Linked DNA regions of Homo sapiens: all the other regions are linked to region 1. The links are contacts of gene promoters, found by promoter capture Hi-C in human tissues and cell types (Jung and others, 2019). All regions are on one chromosome and are shown on one strand. The core of a region is centred on a gene start or on the middle of the fragment in contact, and the rest is flanking DNA. Distances in the headings are between cores, read along the strand shown.

Evidence for each region. The method cuts DNA at HindIII sites, captures the fragments that hold promoters and counts their contacts. A contact is called where the count stands out against the background at its distance.
Region 2: a fragment that was not itself captured here is called in contact with the fragment with the promoter of KIAA1671 in region 1 in 3 of the 25 tissues and cell types used here (bladder, dorsolateral prefrontal cortex and mesendoderm cells).
Region 3: a contact is called between a fragment that was not itself captured here and the fragment with the promoter of KIAA1671 in region 1, in 4 of the 25 tissues and cell types used here (dorsolateral prefrontal cortex, liver, mesendoderm cells and 1 more).

Annotation. Positions count from the first base shown.
Region 1 is chr22:24,950,773-24,954,743 of GRCh38, forward strand. KIAA1671 reads left to right here and starts at 1,944. Exons shown (of 13, transcript NM_001145206.2): 1 at 1,944-2,000. RefSeq lists a silencer at 1,761-2,010. The HindIII fragment of the contact is 5,810 bases long and covers 1-3,971 here.
Region 2 is chr22:24,765,616-24,769,586 of GRCh38, forward strand. The region is part of intron 1 of PIWIL3 (piwi like RNA-mediated gene silencing 3); the gene reads right to left. It also overlaps the pseudogene TOP1P2. Among named protein-coding and RNA genes, the nearest start is that of PIWIL3, 7.1 kb to the right of the region's middle. The HindIII fragment of the contact is 8,444 bases long and covers 1-3,971 here.
Region 3 is chr22:25,115,228-25,119,198 of GRCh38, forward strand. The region is part of intron 6 of KIAA1671; the gene reads left to right. Among named protein-coding and RNA genes, the nearest start is that of KIAA1671-AS1, 4.5 kb to the left of the region's middle. The HindIII fragment of the contact is 3,704 bases long and covers 377-3,971 here.

The DNA.
Region 1 (3,971 bases), core at 694-3,193:
GAACCCCCAGCCTACGCATTCTGGTTCATGGAGATTTGCCCAGGAGAGACAGGAAGTTCCCATAAGGTTAGGGAGGAGGGGCAGCAGATGGCATGTCATCAGCTGTTGGTCATTCATGCACTCAGCATACATTCTTTGAGCACCTATTGTGTGCCAAGCCCTGTTCTAGGCACTGGGAATCGGAGGTGAAAGACAGACAGAAGTCCCTTCCTCCAGGAGGTCTAGAGAGAAGAGCAGACAATCAACGATTTTCCTTTGCTGGTATAACATACACGTCATGTAAAGGCCTGACTTACGTGGATTTTGAAGGATTTTAAGTTTCAACCCAGCCGTTCCTGGTCTCCTACTCACAGACTTCTCTCTGGAAGTGGTAGTTGTCTGTAAAAGCAACTGGGTTTGATCCTTTTGATGACTGTACTCAAGATACCCAGATGATAAGGAGAATGTCTTGAGACATGAGACCTCATGGGACCTCTGCCCCCCAATTCCTGGGTTCCAGCACTGTACACAAGTCAGTTGGGGGTTCTCGGGCTGCTGTTTGGTAAACAGGGTTTACCCTGCCTGGGTCTGATGGTGATGATCAGACCTTCAAAAGGGTTGCAGTGCAAACGGTGTGGAGAACAGGAGCTACCCTTGTTTCTTACACACACCCAACAATTTAAGAGCAAAATGAGGCAAGAAGTCTCCCCACCAATCCTCCTGAAGCCACACAATGTGATGTCTTTTTCTTTTTTTTTTTTTTGAGATGGAGTCTTGCTCTGTCGTCCAGGCTGGAGTGCAGTGGCGCGCTCTTGGCTCACTGCAATCTCCACCTCCCGGGTTCAAGCCATTCTCCTGCCTTAGCCTCCCGAGTAGCTGGGATCACAGGCATCCGCCACCACGCCCAGCTAATTTTTGTAATTTTTAGTAGTGACGAGGTTTCACCACGTTGGCCAGGCTGGTCTCAAACTCATGACCTCAGGTGATCCACCCGCCTCGGCCTCCCAAAATGCTGGGATTACAAGCCACCGTGCGCAGCCTGTGATGTCCTTTTCTTTCTCTTTTTTTATTGAGGTCTATCTTGCTTATAATAAAGGCACATTGATTTTAGGTCCTCCAGTTATTCATGCTCTGTACATTTCCCATAGGAGCACATGTCACAGATTCAATTTGATATACTCGTGAAATTATTTGTTTGAATATCTGTAAGCTGCACAACAGCCTGGATTTTGCCAGCTGCCCACCACTGGGTTCTCCAGCACCCAGCATGCAATAGGTGCTTAATAAAGATCTGCTGAATGAAATGAGTAACGGATAACAGAACAGGTATTTTCTCTTTCAGAGGCGACTTCCTACGATTCTCTCAACTTGTCCACAAGTTCCTGTACCCATTACCCCACAACTCACACCCACAACATAATGGCAGGAGGATGCGCACACAGTAGGCGCTCCAGCGAACTCTCAGGTGCAGTGCCCTTGCTTGGCGCGAGGAGGCGCCAGCACCGCGCACAGACCTTGCCCGCCCCCGGGCCGGCACCAGCAGCCCAGGCAAGTCAGTGGGCCCACATTTATGGAGCGCCTCCTGAAATCCTGGGTTGCATTAGGCTCTCGGGGTCGCCGGCTGGGCAGCGGGTCGGTGCCGGTGGCGGGGGATCCTGGCTGGTGACTGGGGAACATCCAGGGAACGCGGGAGGGTACCCGGAGCAAAGTTCCCAATTGGACAGAGCGGGGTCGGGCCTCGAGGGGCGGGAGCGCTTCCGGCAGGGGTGTCCAAGCGAGTCGTGACCTCTGACCCGCCGGAGAGGTCCCAGGCCCAGGCGCCACTGCGGACTCGGGTCCTGCCTGCTCTGCTCCCCTCCGCGCAGGCGCGGCCGGCGGCAGTTCCCATGGTGACGGGGGCGCGTCCCCGCTCGAGGCCCCGCCCCCAGCAGGCTAGGCTGCGCGGGGCTGCGGGCTCCCAGGGCAGGTGCCGCGGGCTGCGGGCAGGTGGCGGCGCGGCGCGGGCTGGCGGTGGCTCCACGGTAGGTTGCGCAGCGGCTGCGGGCAGTGGGGGCCGGCTGGCCGCCTCCTGTCCCCGGCCGACGAGGTAGCTGGGGGTGACGGCGGCTGGCGAGGGCCGCCAAGTTTCTGCCCGGCCGAGGCCCCGGGAGAAAAGTTGGCAAAGTTGGCCGGGGAAGAGGCGGGGAGCCGGAGGATTTCCCCAGACTCCGGGTCTGCAGGGAGGGAGGATCCCGGTTTGGGAGCCGGGGAATCCGTCTCCCGAGACTTGAGAGTGGATCCCGCGGGAAGATCCCGCACAGGGCAACCAATGGATCACGTGCCACCTGGTTGGCGACTTGGGAGTCGATCCCTGGAGGGGATCGGGCGCTGGAGGCCTGGGGTCCCACTGGATCCCCAGTCAGGGGTGACGGCGAAGGGTGATTCGAGACTGGGAGCGAGAGGATCAATCTCCTCCCATGCCAGCCTGAGCCTTGGGAATGGATTCAGAGAGATCCCGTGGCTAGGAGCTGAGGGATCGCTGGAGATCTGGGTTACTCAGCCTGGAGCTGCTAGGGTCTGGACATTTGTGCGGGTTGGAGGCCCCGGAGGTGGAAGTGGGAAGCAAGGGCGGCGAGCGAGACGGAACCCTGGTCGAGGGGAGCCCGGAGGACAGCGCGGTGGTTCGGGGGGCGTGAGAGGGGCGGCGCGCGGGGCCCCTCGGACGCGGAGGCTCCGGACACGTCCTCTCGGCCTGGCCTGCGCCCCCCCTCCGCTCGTCTTCCCAGGGCGGAGGCGCCCTGATGGGATTAAGCCTCAGTCCCCCTGTTACCAGGCAGGCCCGCGTGGTCCCCGCCCCGATGGCGGCGCGGCCCACCCGGGCTCACGGGTGGGGCCCTCGGGATGGGAAGCGGCTCGTTGACCCCCACCCGAGCCTGACCTTTTCACACCCTGCTGGCACAAACTCGCCTGGGAGTGGGGACGCCGCGCCTTAAAACCCTGCTGTTTGTCCAGTCCCGGAGCAGGCGTGTGACCTCCACCGCGCGACGCCTAGGTGGCTAGGGCTTCCTGCCTGCCGGGACTGAACTTTCTCTAGCCAGGAGCAGCCATTATCTTTTGGAAGGGAAAGGACTGTACCTGTTGCACAAAGAAAAACACTTTCTTTGCACCTTTTTTGTGACCTTGGGCAAAACACTTAACCTATCTGAATCCAGATGGGGACCCTCTGGGCAAAATGGGCTTGGCCTAGGATGGATCGGAATGAAGGGTATGAAACAGGTAGGGGCTCTATAAGTATCAGTGCCTCCCTCAGTCTATGGCCTCTCCTTTCCCGTGCCCCATCCCCTGTGCTTGCCTTACAGTATCTAAAGATTCCAGAAACCCTACTTGCTATCTTTTGAAACCGCAGGATTAGAGAGCTATTTAGCTTAACCTTTCTTCCAAATGGGTTAATTGCCCCTCTGATCCCCCCTTGCAGAGAGAAGCTCTGAGGTTTGGCTAATGAGTAACCAAGACATTTGGACAAAGCTTCTCCCTTGGTCTGGCTTTCCCTCTGCTAATCCATCAAGGTTCCTGGACAAACGTGTGCACCCCCAGACTCTGGCGCCTCCTTCCTTCCTGTTGCAGCCAGGGACAGTTCCCGAGGAATTTGTACAGACACAAGCCCAGATCTTGGTGGTTCTGGCAGGGGGATCCTTTTTAAAGGATTTGCATGCTTGACAAGGGTGCAATTACCCAAGAGAAGTGCAGAGTTTCAATGCAGTGTCTGGACATACATTTCAGCTGGGCACATGAACTGGCTGGCTCCATCAACCAGCGTGTATTGAGCACCTATGTCAGGAGCACTGTAGAAATGGTGTGGCCTAGGGCAACTCAGGATTTGTCCTCTTGGAGTTACTTTCCAGCTATGGAGCAGTCGGCTTGCCCTGCAGTCTAGTACTGATTCTTGATGTTGGGGATACAGTTCTCACCCTAGGTTCAGAGGCTGGAAGCTGCCCCTACCCCCACTGGAGGTC
Region 2 (3,971 bases), core at 1,074-3,573, 180 kb before region 1:
AAATAATCAGTGACTGAAACCATTTTCCCATCATCCTTTGTTCTGAGCATTCGCTGTACTTTAAGATACCCATCTTTTTCTTTTTAACCCTAATCTTTCACTTGAAAGATTTTATTGTATAAAAAGTTCCACAGGTCAATAAATTTAGAGGAAAATGAGTATTTGGTCCAAAAAAAAAAAGGAAAAATAATCAAGATTTTAGGGCTTTTATTTTTTCTTTTGTAGTTGTGTAAAAAATGGGGAAAAAAAGCAGAATTTTAATGTGAAGACATTTTTTGCTATAATTATTAGTTTTAGAGGCATTGTTAGTTTAGTGTGTGTGCAGAGTCCATTTCCCACATCTTTCCTCAAGTATCCTCTATTTTTATCATGAATTCCCTTTTAGTCAACTGTAGGTTATTTAAAATAAATTCCTTCAACTTAATGGAAAAAAAAAAAAGAAACCCTCCCACCTCAGCCTCCTGGGTTCAAGAAATCCTCCCACTTCGGCCTCCAGAGTAGCTGGAACTGCAGGTGCTGCCACTACTCCTGGCTAATTTTTTAGTATTTTTTGTGGAGACGGGGTTTCACCATGTTGCCTGGGCTGGTCTTGAGCTCCTGAGCTCAAGCGATCATCCCATCTCAGCCTCCCGAATTTCTGGGATTACAGGTGTGAGCCACCATGCCTAGCCTAGGTTTTTTGTTTTTTTGTTTTGTTTTGTTTTGTTTTTGTTTTTGTTTTGAGACAGAGTCTGGCTCTGTTGCCCAGGCTGGAGTACAGTGGCGTGATCTCAGCTCACTACAAGCTCTGTCTGCTGGGTTCACGCCATTCTCCTGCCTCAGCCTCCCGAGTAGCTGGAAGTACAGGCGCCCGCCACCAGGCCTGGCTAATTTTTTTGTATTTTTTTTAGTAGAGACGGGGTTTCGCCATGTTAGCCAGGATGGTCTTGATCTCCTGACCTTGTGATCCGCCTGCCTCAGCCTTCCAAAGTGCTGGGATTACAGGCGTGAGCCACCGCGCCTGGCCTAGCCTAGATATTTTTTAAAAATCACCAATTCTTTAATATTTTATCACAGTTACATCCAGATCCTTGATGTACACATTGAATGCCTGTCAATTATGAGAGAAATAGTTAGTTATCTGGCACGGTTTCTTAACTAATCTTTGTCTTACTGCTTTGAAATTGCACCATTATCCTATAGAAATCTGCATGCGTTCTCAGCTTGAATTCCAGACTCAGTTGTGCACTGTTGGCCAGGCACAGAGTTTCATGCCTGTAATCCCAGCACTTTGGGAGGCTGAGGCAGGAGGATTGCTTGAGCCCAGTAGTTCAAGACTAGCCGGGGCAACATCAAGACACCGTCTCTAAAAAAAAAAAAAATTAAAAAATTAACTAGGATGGTGGTGCACACCTGTAGTCCCTGGTGCTTGGGAGGTTGAGGCAGGAGGACAGGAGGATCGCTTGAGCCTGGGAGTTCAAGGCTGCAGTGGACTATGATCATACCACTGCACTCCAGCCCGGGTGACAGAGTGAGACTCTGTCTCAAAAAATTCTGCACTGTCTATGGTGCAGCAGTAACTATTTGTTTACTACATCTTGAAAATATCCTAAAGATTTGAAAAGCCTGAACCTGCTAAGCACTTGAAAATTCCTGGCCAGCTGGGCGGGGTGACTCAGGCCTGCAATCCCAGCACTTTGGGAGGCTGAGGTGGGCGGATAACCTGAGGTCAGGAGTTCGAGACCAGCCTGGACAACATGGTGAAACCCCGTCTCTACTAAAAAAAATAAATAAATAAATAAATAAATTAGCCAGGTGTGGTGATGTGTGCCTGTAATCCCAGCTACTTGGGAGACTGAGGCAGGAGAATTGCTTGAACCTGGCAGGTGGAGGTTGCAGTGAGCTGAGATCGAGCCATTGCACTCCAGCCTGGGCAACAAAGGCGAAACTCTGTCTCAAAAAAAAAAAAGGGCAAAGAGAAAAAGGAATAAAAAGACAAAGCAGAATACGTCCCAAGAACTGGGATAACTATAAAAGGTGTAACATGCATAATGGGAATATCATAAGGAAAGAAAGAGAGAAAGGAACAGGAGAAGTATTTGAAATAATAATGACCGAAAATTTTCCAAAATTAAAAACAGAATTAAATCACAGATCCAGGAAGTTCATAGAACACTAAGCAAGATAAATACCAAAAATTATACTCTAGGCATAATATTCAAACTGAAAGGACAGTGACTTGCCCAAGGTCACACAGTCAGCAAGTGACAGAAGTGGGATTAGAAGGCAAGCCTACCTATCCCCAGAGCCAACCTCCTTTGCCCCTCACCTGGGTTCATCCCCAAGCTCACAGGCCAAAAGCCTGCAAACTGAGTCAGGAAAGAAAAATTCCTGTCCATCATTTCTCACTCTGGGGAAGGAAGGTAAAAAGAGTGCTCACATTCACTGTCAGGTCTGATAGACTCTCCTGCAACTACTTTTCTGAGGACAAATTGCTGTTTCCAATGGCTGATGGCTTCATCAGTGCAAAACTCTTATTGGGGACTGCACAGAGCTGACATTTGCCACTGTTTTGTGACCATCACAAAAAGAATCCTATATTTTGTTTTCCCTTTTTCTTTTTTTGTTGTTGTTTTTTGTTGTTGTTGTTTGTTTTTTGTGTTTTTTTTTTCTTGAGATGGAGTCTTGCTCTGTTGCCCAGGCTGGAGTGAGTGCAGTGACACAATCTCGGCTCACTGCAACCTCCACCTCCCAAGTTCAAGTGATTCTCCTGCCTCAGCCTCCCAAGTAGCTGGGATTACAGAGGACACCACCATGCCCGGCTAATTTTTGTATTTTTAGTAGGGACAGGGTTTCACCATCTTGGCCAGGATGGTCTTGAACTCCTGACCTCGTGATCCACCCGCCTCAGCATCCCAAAATGCTGGGATTACAGGCGTGAGCCCCCACGCCTGGCCTGTTTTCCCTTTTTCATTCTGCAGACATCAAAGGAAAACAAGAAGCAGGAAGGTCTGTGGCTGACAGCAATGTCTCCCTCAGCCCTTACCTCTATGGGTGACAGGGCCAAAGCCTCACTGTCCTGCCAGCCACTGTGAACAGACAGCATTCTCTGCCCCAAGAACGCAACTCTGCAGGTGGAGGAGGCCCAAGGAGAGAGATTTCATTTTCTGTTCCTCTTCTAGGGGCTGACAGCTTGGACAATAGTTTCTCAGAAACAAACTTTATTCTCAAGGAGATGAGCATGTCTGAGCCTGGAATGTTTATGTGAACAAATATGGTTTTTCTCCCTGCTCCAGCCTCAGCCTTGGCCATGAGACAAGGTTTCCTCTTCACCATCTGTGGAAGGCTCATTTTTGTTCCATGGGCTCAGCTTGTCTGTGCCTGGGACAAAGAGCCGCAAGGTGGTGCTATTGTCTTAGGTTAATAAAAACGAGGCCAACTATACAGTCCTCCTTGGGTATCCACAGGGATTGGTTCCACAGTCTACCGCTGATACCAAAATCTGTGGATGCTCAAGTCCCTGATACAAAATGGTGTTGTATTTGTATACATCCTATGCACATCCTCCTGTATACCTTTAAATCATCACTAGATTATTTATGATACCTAATACCATGTAAATACTTTGTAAGTAGTTGTTATGTTGTGTTGTTTAAAGCAGGAATGTCCAATCTTTTGACTTCCCCGGGCCACATTGGAAGAATTGTTTTGGGCTACACATAAAATACACTAACACGGCCAGGCGCCATAGTTCATGCCTATAATCCCAGCAGCTTGGGAGGCCGAGGCGGGTGGATCACAAGGTCAGGAGATCGAGACCATACTAGCTAACATGGTGAAACCCCCTCTCTACTAAAAATATAAAAAATTAGCCAGGTGTGGTGGCGGGCACCTGTAGTCCCAGCTACTTGGGAGGCTGAGGCAGGAGAATGGCGTGGACCTGGGAGGCAGAGCTTGCAGTGAGCCGAGATCGTGCCATTGCACTCCAGCCT
Region 3 (3,971 bases), core at 979-3,478, 160 kb after region 1:
GTGGACTCCAGTTAGAGGCCAGACAGAAAATTCCAGAACCCAGGAACAATGGCAGTGGCACAGGGGCCAAGACTGGAATAAAAGCGGGAAGTGGGGGGTCTCTGAGGCCATGGGGTGCCGCACCAAGGAGGGCTTTGGAGTCAGACAGACTTAGGCCTGAGTCTCAACTCACCACGTGCAAACTGAGTGACCTTGGGCAGCTTAAATCACCTCTTGCAGCCTCAGTGCCCTCATCTGAAACATGGAGATTCAGCTGGGACTTGTCTGGTGGGTGGTTCAATGGGACAGAGTGGACTAAGAGCAAGCATAGCCCTGGCATGCAGGAGGTGCTGAATAAATGTTCGTTCCACGTTGCTTTTTGGGGGGCTCAGACTGTAATGTGAGTCCTACCTTCCTAGAAGGCTAGACTGGTGCCTCAGGGAAGCAGAGTAAGAGCCTGATCAACCTGTGTTTGTATTTACTGTGTGCAGGGCTCCATGCTAAGCATCAGGTGCATATAACTTGCATGTCTTCATTAATTCACTCATATTTTCATTCAACCAGTATTTATTTTTATTTATTTATTTAGAGACAGAGCCTCACTTTGTCACCCAGGCTGGAGTGCAGTGGCACAGTCTCGGCTCACTGCAACCTCCACCTCCCAGGTTCAAGTGATTCTCCTGCCTCAGCCTCCCCAGTAGCTGGGATTACAGGTGCCCTCCACAACACTGGCTAATTTTTGTATTTTTAGTAGAGACAGGGTTTCACCATGATGACCAGGCTGGTCTCGAACTCCTGACCTCAAGTGATCCACCCGCTTCAACCTCCTAAAGTGCTGGGATTACAGGCATGAGCCACTGTGCCCAGCCTATTTTCATTTACTTATTTTGAAGACAAGGTCTTGCCCTGTCACTGGAGCTGGAGTGGAGTGGCACGATCATAGCTCACCACAGCCTCGATACCCTGCGTTCAAGCCATCCTCTCACCTCTGGAATAGCTGGGACTACAGGCATGTGCCACCACACCCAGCCATTTTTTTTCTTTTGTGTAGAGACAGGGTCCTGCTATGTTGCCCAGGCTGGTCTTGAGCTCCTGGCCTCAAGTGATCCTCCCACCTCAGCCTCCCAAAGTGTGGGGATTGCAAGCATGAGCCACTGTACCCCACCCCCTCCACCAGTATGTATGTATGTATGTATGTATGTATGTATGTATGTATGTATGTATGTACGTATTGAGATGGAGTCTTGCTCTGTCCCCTAGGCTGGAGTGCAATGGTGCAGTCTTGGCTCACTGCAACCTCCGCCTCCTGGGTTCAAGCAATTCTCCTGCCTCAGCCTCCTGAGTAGCTGGGACTGCAGGCGTGTTCCACCACACCCGGCTAATTTTTGTATTTTTAGTAGAGACAGGGTTTCACCATGTTGGCCAGGCTGGTCTCGAACTCTGGCCTCAGGTGATCCACCCACCTCAGCCTCCCAAAGTGCTGAGATTACAGGTGTGAGCCACCACACCTGGCCCCCTCAGTCAGTATTTACTGAGTATCTACCACAACTCTGGTGCAGGAGAAATGGCTGTGAACGAAAGAGACAAAACTCCTGCCTTCACAGAGCTGCCTTCTAGTGAGGCTGATAATAAAACACATCAGAATGTAAATATGTCATATATGTGCTGAAAATGAGAGAACTATCTTAAAATATCAAGGGTCTGTCTTTAACCTCAAACTATTGCTGTATATTAGAGTTTCTCAGCCTCAGCTCTAATGATATATTGGGCTACATAATTGTTTATGGCTGTGGGGGGTAAGGGGTAGAGTCTGTGCATTGTAAGCTTATCCCTGGTTCCTACCCACTAGAAGCCAGTAGCATCCCACAGTTGTGACAACCAAAAATATCCAGACATTGCCAAGTCTCTTGGGGGCAGAATCACAATGCCCCCTCCCAGCCCCCATCCAGGTTTGAGAACACTGTCGTATATAATGTGGTGTGGGGCACAATAATTGTAGCTGGGGTATATTCTCCCAGTGACTTAAATATGGGGAGAAGGGCAGGGATCCCACATCCATGAGCCTCTCCTGCTTGCCAGGAACCACACAGCTGCCCCTGTGGGGTATAGCCCCATACTTTGTGAATGGAGAAATCTGAAGCACAGAGAGGGGAAGTCACAGGACTGGGGATCCATGAAGTGGGGACTCCATCCAGCATGTGTCGGCCTTGCTGGGAGCATGACCACACCCTGCACTGGGGATTCACTATTAAACATCGGCCCCAGAGCTGAGCGTTCAGTCCTCCAGCCCAAGGCCGAGTGGGAGTATTTGCTTCTGTGTTAATTATGGACTGTAATGGAGGCTTAAAATATTCAGCAGGGCTCAGCATCTCCCCCAACCACACACACACACACACACACACACACACACACACACACACACACACACACAGACACACTGCTTCAGCAAGTGGGGGAGAATTGCAAGGAAAGGATGTATAGAACTCCTGCCTTCAGAAGCTGCATTTCAGCCCCATCTCCATCAGTACTCTCTCCCTACTGGGGTCCTCCGGCTCTGTAACAAATTACCACAAACTTGGTGGCTTAAATTAATATAACTTCATCTCTCACAGTTCCGGAGTCCAGAAGTCCAAAATCAAAATGTCAGCAGTCGGCCGGGTGTGGTGACTCACCTGTAATCCCAGCACTTTGGGAGGCCGAGGCGGGCGGATCACCTGAGATCGGGAGTTCAAGACCAGCTTGACCAACATGGAGAAACCCCATCTCTACTAAAAATACAAAATTAGCCCAGTGTGGTGACGCATGCCTGTAATCCCAGCTACTCAGGAGGCTGAGGCAGGAGAATTGCTTGAACCCGGGAGGTGGAGGTTGCAGTGAGTCGAGATCACACCATTGCACTCCAGCCTGGGCAACAAGAATGCAACTCTGTCTCAAAAAAAAAAAAAAAAAAAAAAATGTCAGCAGTCAACGCCTCCCTCCAGAGGCTCTAGGGGAGCATCCTTTCTCACCTCTTCCAGCTTCTGGTGGTTCCAGGCATTCTTTGGCTTGTGGCCACATCACCCCAATCTCTGCCTCTATCTTCATGTCACTATCTCCTCTTCTCTGTCATCTCCTTTCCTGTCTCTGGTAAGGACACTTGTCCCTGAACATGGGAGCCTCCTGGATTACCTAGGATGATCTCACCTAGGATGATCACCTCAACCTCCCAAGTAGCTGGGACTACAGGTGTACACCACCACACCTACCTAATTTTTTTGTATTTTTAATAGAGACAGAGTTTTACCTTGTTGCCCAAGGTAGTCTCAAACTTCTGGGCTCAAGGGATCCACCTACTTCAGCCTCCCAAAGTGCTGGGATTACAGACGTGAGACACTGCATCCAGCCAACGTATCTTTTTAGGGGCCACTGTCAGCCCCCCACACACTCCCCACAGCTTACACTCTGGCCCCTCCCATCCAGTCCATTCTCCTCCCAACAACCCAAGAGATCAGGTCATTCCCCTGCCTCACCCCAGACTTAGATGCCCAGTTTTCCTGTGCGACCTGGCCCTGCCTCCCTGCTAACATCAGCTCCTACCTCTGTCCTTTATGCTCACTCTGACCTTGCCCCTCTGACCTCCTGCTCTTCGTCAGTCACCCCCTGCTCCTTCCAGACGCCAGGACTTTGCCATCACCATTCCCTCTGCTGAAATGCCCTTGCCCTCTCTTCACCTCTGCAGAGAGGCTTCCCGACGTTCCAGGCTGTGGTGAACTCCCTGCGTTTCCCTGCACCCATCCTACATTTCTTCCTGGGACCTATCTCATTCTATACTTATTTCATGTCACTTGTTCCCTGGTTTATTCTCTGACTCCTCTACTAGGATGTAAGGTCCATGAGGGCCAGGGCTTTGGCCGTCCTGGTTCACCTTGATATTGCCAGTACCCAGAACAGTGGCTAGGAGCTCACAGAGTATCTGCCTTCCTGAAATCCACTGTCCTTCATTCTTGTGTCCA